Regions from separate parts of the Homo sapiens genome. Here all the other regions are linked to region 2. The links are contacts of gene promoters, found by promoter capture Hi-C in blood cells and fetal thymus (Javierre and others, 2016). All regions are on one chromosome and are shown on one strand. The core of a region is centred on a gene start or on the middle of the fragment in contact, and the rest is flanking DNA. Distances in the headings are between cores, read along the strand shown. Region 1 overlaps ZNF71 (zinc finger protein 71). Region 2 holds the start of LINC01530 (long intergenic non-protein coding RNA 1530). Region 3 holds the start of LOC105372473 (a long non-coding RNA gene).

Evidence for each region. The method cuts DNA at HindIII sites, captures the fragments that hold promoters and counts their contacts. A CHiCAGO score of 5 or more calls a contact.
Region 1: a fragment that was not itself captured here is called in contact with the fragment with the promoter of LINC01530 in region 2 in 1 of 17 cell types (non-activated CD4 T cells); the score reaches 5.5 in non-activated CD4 T cells.
Region 3: a fragment that was not itself captured here is called in contact with the fragment with the promoter of LINC01530 in region 2 in 1 of 17 cell types (total CD8 T cells); the score reaches 6.5 in total CD8 T cells.

The regions. Positions count from the first base shown.
Region 1 is chr19:56,604,242-56,606,941 of GRCh38, forward strand. The region is part of intron 2 of ZNF71 (zinc finger protein 71); the gene reads left to right. All of the region lies in intron 2 of ZNF71-SMIM17 (ZNF71-SMIM17 readthrough (NMD candidate)), which reads left to right. Among named protein-coding and RNA genes, the nearest start is that of ZNF71-SMIM17, 10 kb to the left of the region's middle. The HindIII fragment of the contact is 7,069 bases long and covers 1-2,700 here.
Region 2 is chr19:51,593,112-51,595,811 of GRCh38, forward strand. LINC01530 (long intergenic non-protein coding RNA 1530) reads right to left here and starts at 1,269. Exons shown (of 2, transcript NR_034159.1): 1 at 838-1,269. RefSeq lists enhancers at 1-348, 349-984, 985-1,620, 1,367-1,676, 1,887-1,936 and a silencer at 2,019-2,186. The HindIII fragment of the contact is 8,842 bases long and covers 1-2,403 here.
Region 3 is chr19:56,671,918-56,674,715 of GRCh38, forward strand. LOC105372473 (a long non-coding RNA gene) reads left to right here and starts at 62. Exons shown (of 4, transcript XR_936110.4): 1 at 62-514. The HindIII fragment of the contact is 2,649 bases long and covers 1-2,583 here.

The sequences.
Region 1 (2,700 bases), core at 19-2,518, 5.0 Mb after region 2:
TGCATCTGCAAACTCATCAAGTTATGTATATTATTAAATATGCACAGCTTTTTATATATCAGTCACACCTCAATCAAGTAGTTTAAATTTTTAGAAAAGGAGGAATTATTAGCTGGGCTGGCTGAAAGATACATTGGGCCAAAAGGTCAAATAATATCATATAAGGATCTACAGTTGTACATAAGATATATATTAAATATCAACATTAAATAATAGCAAGAGTCGACATTTACTGAGAGCTTCCTCCATCACACGAGGCACTGTGTTTGGACCATATTTGTACACATTTAACCTTACGACCCTGTGGAGGGGGACATTGTTATCAGGAAGCCTGCCTCTCATATGAGGCTTAGAAAGAGAAAGACAGTTGTCCAAGGAAACACAGCTCATGAGGGGCAGAGCCAGGATTCCGTTGCAGAGTGTGGTTCCTGAGCCTACACTCTGAACCACCAGCCCAACTGCTTTCTATCAAAGGTGACCCCTCAGGCAGAGGAGGCTATCTTGAGCCCAAGCCCCAGAAGGGCACCCTAGGACCATAGAGGGACTAGCCAGCGGGGGTGAGGCCTCCCCTTGGGATTCAGTTGGTGGTGGGGACACTCAGTATGCTGGAGAGAGCCAGTGAGCTCTGAGTGTCAGTAACAATAGCTGGCACTTATTGAGTGCCTGCTGTATGCTATGCATTACCATTCTGAGTGTCTTACATAAATAAGTGGGCAGGTGGGGCCTGTAGCAAATTGGAGCTTTCTTGCCCCATCAAAGGGTCAGCCACCACTCAGCTCCAGCCTAGAGTGGCCAGATATTCTGCTGTTTAAAGAGAAACTAGAAATTCATTTTCTTGGTAAATTGTGGATGTGTTTTTCATGTGAGTAACAATTAAAAACAATTTTGAAACCCCCATAGGAGCAAAATAGAAATGTGTACAGCTGGCTTCAGGCCCAGGTACATCTCATATGCTCTGTGTGCTCAGAACTCCCGTTCTTTCCTTGTGCCTTGGGGGTTGTACCACTGAATCAGTTCAGAACAGCAGGTCCCTCTGTAGGACACAATAGGTCTCTCATTACTCACATGCCATGCTGTGAGGAAGCCCAAGCAGCCACAAGGAAAAGTGATGTGGAGAAAAAGAGATGCCCACCAAGGCCTCAGCTGTGCCATCCATACCAGCTCAAGAGACAGACTTGTAAACAAAGAAGCTAGCAGACTACTCTAGCCCAGCTGCCATCCAACTGCCACCACACAAGAGATGCCAGGCACGAACTGCCCAGCTGAGCCCATCAACCCCAAAATAGTAATAAATTGTTGTTTTTGAGCCATTAAGTTCTGAGATGGCTGCTACCCAGCAAAATATAACTGGATCAGAAATTTAATCTGTGGCCATGGCTCAAGATCTTCATGTGGCAGAGTCATGCATGGATGATGTGATCAGCCAGCAATAATGTGAGACGTGCAGGCCTTCATCACACTAGGGAGGAGGTCGACTGTCAAGCACCATCTCTGGAAGTGGCTTCAGGATCGCTTGTGATCTGTCTGGAAGAGAAGCGCCAGCTGGGACACTCTGTGATATTTATCCAACTGTCTTCTTTATAGGCAAAAGACGTGCCATCCATCTCAGGGTCTGATCCAAACTAAACTGCTCCTTGGCTGTGATGCCAGCTAGATTGGTATTATACATGGATGAGGCCATCTAATGTTGGGGCTGAGAGTTGAACTGACTAGGTTTAAAATGCTGCCACTCCCATCTGTGTGACCTCTTGTGCCTCAGTCTCCCCCTTTGTAAAAGAAATGAGCTCATAAAAGTGCCTACATAGTAGGGTTCTTTTGAAGATTAAGTGAGATGGTGTGTGCAGTGGGCTTAGAACAATACCTGGCATGTAGTATGTGCTTAATGAACATTAGTTATTTTTATCATTATTTACTAATGAATTAGTATGGAAGAAACCTGGTGCCAATACCATGTCTGTCTTATTCACAGTTGTATGCCCAGTGCCTGGTGCATGGCAGGCACTTAATAAATATTCGTCAAATGAATACATGAAAGGGTGAAGTATCACTCTGTGTGTTTCCAGGAACCATCAATGAACATATTTAGAATATGTTAGAATATGTATTAGATACCATTGATCTAGAATTCCTGTTTAGGGGGTAAAAATTCAACCATACTTTTCTGGTAGCCCGGAAAATTATAAATTAATCAGTTAAATTTCCGATCCAGTTATATTTTGCTGGGTAGTAACCATCTCAGAACTTAATGGCTCAAAAACTACAATTTATTACTATTTTGGGGTTGATGGGCTCAGCTGGGCAGTTCGTGCCTGGCATCTCTTGTGTGGTGGCTGTTGGATGGCAGCTGGGCTAGAGTAGTCTGCTGGCTTCTTTGCTCACATGTCTGTCTCTTGCTGTGGTATGGATGGCACCGCTGAGGCCTTGGTGGGCATCTTTTTTTTTTCCACATGGATTTTCCTTGTGGCTGCTTGGGCTTCCTCACAGCATGGCATGTGAGTAATGAGACATAATGAGACACCTGTTGTGATGACTGGCTTCTCCCAGAGCAAGTGTTCCAGGAGGCTGAGGCAGGAGCTGGAAGTCTTCTGTGATCTAGCCTGAGAGTCCCAGAACATTACCTCTGCCAGATTCTATTGGTCAAGCAGGTCCCTAAGGCCAGCCCACATTCAAGGATGGGGGAACTAGACTCCACTAGTGAAG
Region 2 (2,700 bases), core at 19-2,518:
ACTTCCAACACTGATTCACCTCCAGGGCCTCTGCTTGTGGCCAGGATCTTCCCCCTCCAGCATATGGTAGCCTCTGAAAAGCAGGTGGGGCTGGGAGAGGAGCATCCCGCTTAGTTTCACCCTTCCAGAGACACAGGAAGGCATGGAGGCCAAACACCTGTCTCTGACAGGGTCCCCATGCCACAGCCCAGCCCTCCAGTCCAGGGTAGCCCATGTCCCCCTCAGCCCAGGGCGGCCCATACCTGCCTCATCATGTCAGGACCTGCAGCTCCTGCCTCCCACCTGGCAGTGATGTCATCCTCATCATCCCAACCCCACTACACGTTGGAGAAGCCATTTATCTTCAGGTAGTGAGTGGGGTGCAGGGCAAACACCCCTCCAAGGCACAAGCTAACGGCTTAATTGCTGTTGTTTCCCCATGTTCTGGCTTGCAGCACTTGTAACCTCTGGGCTCCTGCAGCCCTTAACATCTGATACCTTTACATTAAGATTTATCATCCTTATCTCTGGACCAGGCTGAATACACCTGTGTCCCGGTGCATCTGGCCAGCGGGTCAAAGGGCCTAGCACACAGATTAACAAATGAATGAGTTCCAGTTACCAAAGTTCAATCCTTGAGGTGGACAGAAGACGCCCAAGGCGTGTCTCCCATCACCCTTCACTCTCAATCCTCCTTATCAAGGGCCTCACGGGAATAGTGATAAGATCTCAGAATATACAGGAGGGAGCAGTTTCGGGAAGGGGGGCATTGGAAGGAAGTGGAGGGCTTGGATCTGGGGAGCAAGCGGGGAGAGTGCTCCGTTCCTTGGTTTTGGGATCTTGCCTTACGGGTCTCACCTGCCCTCCATCCTGGCTTCCACCTGGCAGGGTGTGTTTGTGTCAGAAAGACGATTGTGCGTAACTGTTCACCGCGTCCACGTCCCGAGAGTTGCGCACGCGTGGAGATCTGCAAAACGCTCCCTTTCAGCTCCGCGCATGCACAGAGACCCCACCCCGCAAGTCCTTGCCCTTCGGCCTGGGCAGGCGTCCACTCCCATGGCTGCAGGGCGCGCCGAAGAGCCCACTCTGCATCCCCGAGACGCGGCCCAATCCTAGGAATGTGCTTAGCGCAGGTGCTATCTTCCCTTTTCACATTCCCAATCTCTTTCTCCGCCCCCTCAAACTCTTGCCATACTCCCACAACAGCAGAAAATCTGAAAAAAAAGTCCATCCCATCTTTGCACTGACAGCAGTGCACAGCAGCTGGCAGAGAATTCTGGCACGGCTATTGTGCTTGCGCAGGCGCAGACGGGAAGCGGGCCGGACCGGCCTAGTACACTCTGGGAGGCGTGCGCAGAATGCGCAGCGCTGCCGCGAGGATCTCTGGGAACTGTAGGCCCAGTTTGTCCGAGAGCCGCAAGTGTTTCGGGACGACGCAACGCAGGGGCACCTGGGAGTCGTAGGCGGATGGGCCCAAAGCCTTCCGGGAGTCGTAGTCCTTCCGCCCGCTCCTCGTTTCTTTGGAGGTTGGCCCTTCCAGCTCCAGTTCTGCCCAGGTGAGCGCCCATCCCGCGGCCGGCCGGTCCTGGCCCTTTGTCGCGATGACGTGGCGGAGTTGAGGGTCTCTGTATTTCTCTCCCCCGCGTTCTGGTAGGCGTCCCTGGAAAGATGGCACCCTTTTCCGTGATCTCTCAATCCCTCTCTCCGGGTGGGAGTGCTCTAAGCAGCTGTTGTACCTGCTGACCCGCTTTGGATTCTGCGGCCCAGCCTGACACCTTCTCACTCTCGCCCTTCAACCTGGGTGCAGTGCGAGTGCACCCTCCTCTGTCCTGGTTACAACACAGAGTGGTCAGGGCTGGCCCAGGGGGTGCTCAGGAGGCTGTGGGAACACAGAGGAGGTGCTAGACCCAGCCCAGGGTTCAGGAAAGACCTTACAGAGCAAAGGACCTCAAATCTACCACATCCAAACGAAATCCCAGATTCCCTGTCCTAAACCTGCTCCTCTCACAATCTTTCTGCCTCCTCCCCACTAACTGTCCATCCAAGTGCTCAAGCCAAAATCTTGGAATGGTCGCCAGTGTTCTGTTTCTCTCATCCGCTTCCCTCCCGCAACCAAATCTTGTGTGAGTCTCATCGTCTCTATCTCCAGAAGAGGCCCAGAATCTAACCACTTCTCTCCACTTCCACTGTCTCCATTCTGCTCCGAGCTACCGTTACTCCTCACCTGCATCACTGCAGGGGCCTCCTCACTGTTCTGTTTCTTCCCTTGCCACACTCCACCCTCTATTCAGGCACAGTGCCAGGAAGCCTGTGGAAATATAAATCAGATCCTGTCACCAGTCACTACCCTGCCCCCCAGCTTAAAATCATCCAGTGGTTCCCATCTCAGAATAAAATCCAAGCTCCTTATCCTGCCAACCTCTAAGCTTCTGGTCCTTTCTGGTCGTCCTCAGTCACAACACACTTTCCAATGGGCTGAACACAGCCAGGCCCTGCCCTTCATGTCCTTTGCATTTGCTATTAACTCAATTTGGAGCATTCTTCCCACCCTGACCCAATATCTGTCTACTCATTTTGTTGGCCTCAGCTCAAAGGCCTCCAGCCACCCTAAAGAACCCCCTCCCTGTTCCCCCCCCCCCAGTCATACCACCAAAGATAATTCCCTCGTATTTGGAAAGCATCTTAGTCATTTACTTCCTTATCCATGGCCTGGTTCCTCCA
Region 3 (2,798 bases), core at 9-2,508, 5.1 Mb after region 2:
CCGCAGGGCGCTGACCCCTGGGGGCCCGAGGAGCGCCGGGCTGCTGCCCCGAGCCCCGCCCACTACAGCCTCAGTGCATGGCGGTGGGCGCTTCCAGTAACTCAGGGGTGGGACTTTTTTCTTGCTCAGGGGATGAGGCCGAGCCCACAGGCTTAGAAAGAAGGAACTTGAGTCCGGGCACCTGTCATCCCAGCGCTTAGGGAGGCCGAGGCGGGTGGATCACCTGAGGTCAGGAGTTCGAGACCAGCCTGGCCAATATGGCGAAACCCCCGTCTCTACTAAAAATACAAAAATTAGCCGAGCATGGTGGCATGCACTTCCAGCTACTTGGAAGGCTGAGGCGGGAGAATGGCTTGAACCTGGGAGGCGAGGGTTGCAGTGAGCTGAGATCGCACCACTGCACTCCAGCCTGGGTGACAGAGCGAGACTTCGTCTCAAAAAAAAAGAAGAAGAAAGAAGGAAGCTGAGGTTCAGACAGGCTAAGTCCCTACTGCAGGCTGCGGAATCTAAAAAGGTAGGTGCCAGGGTTTGCAACCCACACTTTTATTTTGGTCTCAGGTAGCTGATGTCATTCCAGTCTATGGCAAAGAAGGTGGCAAATCCATTAACATAGATGAAGAATTTCATTTTACTTTTTAGTTTTATTTATTTATTTATTTTTATTATGTATCATGCTTTTAATACAAACTTTAAAAAATCTGGAACAATAGAAACTGTACAGATTTGATCAATCTTTTTGTTTTGTTTTTAAACTAAAATCTCTAAACACACCAATGTCCTATTCCAAAATATTGCACAACATTCTGAATACAAAACCCTTGATTGTATTCCTCCTTCACTGAAGAAAAAACTTCATGACCCTGCTCCCCGGGCTCCTCTCCAGGCTTGCGTCAATGCCCCCTTCCCATCCCTAGGGAGAAAACTAGAGAATCTATAACTCACTGCATTGAGAAAAAGACATCATTCTGGACTAACAGTTTCCATTCTTCAGAAGATAATCCACCTTTTGATTTGTTCCTGGGAAACAGGGATAGATAGAGGATGGGGAAAGGGGAGAAAAGGTTTTATTTCTCCTCTTTTTTTTTTAAAGTTTGTTTTTCCTGAAAAAATATGTTTCTCTCATCTTTTTAAGAAAAAATCTTGAAAAGAAAAAAATTGTTTTTACGTTAGAAATATACATATATTATATATACCTCTTACATTTTACAAATGTAGCAAATTATTCAATACAAACGGACACCAAAAAATGTAAAAAATAAAAAAAAGTTTTCCTAAGAACCAGGTAAATTAGTGCAGATTTCTGTTTTTGTTTTCTTAAAAAAAATAAAATTGAAGCAAAAGTGCCTAGATTTGAGACAAGACAGACTGAACTGGGCCCAAGAGCCCAGCACTGGAGTCATGCTCCTGAACACACATTTTTCTTCGTATTTCAAAAGACACAAAGGGGTTGGTCTCCCCCCCTCTCCCTACATGTGAGAAACAAGCAGACCTGGTGTGGGTGGGTGCCTGTGTGTGTGGATGGGAGGAGGGATAGAAGGGGATGTAAGGCAGCATCCAACCTTTCCCAGAGAGAAGCTATCTGCTGGGCCTGTCACCTGTGTGGGAGCCGAGGATGAGGGAAAGGGTGGCCCAGACTGGGCTGGCCCCTGAGAAGTCTAGGGGAACAGATGGTGCTGGGCTGAGAAGCCAGGACATTGCCTGCCGGGGGAGGTAGAGCTGGTGCCTACTGCAGGGAGAGGAGGCTGGCAGTGCCGGCCTGGGCTGGACCCACTGCCATAGCAGTTGCCTACTTGGGGTCCCTGGGTAGGATGGAGTGGGTGGGGTGCCAGGGGCTTTGGTGCTTTCTGGTGATGGGACCCTGATGCCAAGTGCCCACTTTGCAAAGATGAAAAAGTTCATGACCCTGCTCCCTTGGCTCCTGTCCATGCTTGCCTGGCCTCCTGGGGTTGGAGGAACAAGCTCTCTCCTGGCAGAGGCAGGAGAGAGTTTTATTTTTTAGAAACAGTTTCGCTTTGTTGCACAGGCTGGAGTGCAGTGGTACAATCACGGCTCACTGCATCCTCGACCTCCCCAACTCTAGTGATCCTCCCATCTTAGCCTCCTGAGTAGCTGAGATTGCAGGCATGTGCCACCACACTGGCTAACTTTTTTTTAACTTTTATTTTTTGTAGAGATGAGGTGTCGCTATGTTGCCCTGGCTAGTCTTGAACTCCAATCCTTCCACCTCGGCCTTAAATAATTTTAATAGTTGACATGCACATGGCATTTACTATTGGCCGGCATTATTTTAAGGTGCCTGCTCTGAAGGAATTCTGTTAGCCTTCCTAAATTATTCCCTTGGCCATTGGAAACATAGGCATGAGATCATTTTTAGATAATTGGAAAAGCAGAGAAATCTGTGAAGATAGAATGGGAAAAAAAATGCATTTCACTAAACCAACATGCCATTGATTGTGAGATTCCACATTACTTTATGTAGCCCCACGGCTGCCCTTAAACCATGACACATGCTTTATTTACAGTTCATATTTTACTTATTCGTAGACCTCAAGAGGCATTCTGTGCTTCCCTCTTCCTTCTGGAAGCTTCATGAGAAGGGACATTTTCCTCAAAGGATGGACAACAGAAACAACTCAAATATTCATTTCCTTTAAATATGGTTTTTAAGACAATTTTCTTTAGAAAGCCACATTTACCTGTTGGGGGTTGATTTATGCTCACCCCCCTCCCAAATATATGTTGGAATGCTAACCCCCTATTCCTCAGAATGTGACTTTATTTGGAGACAGGTTCTTTAC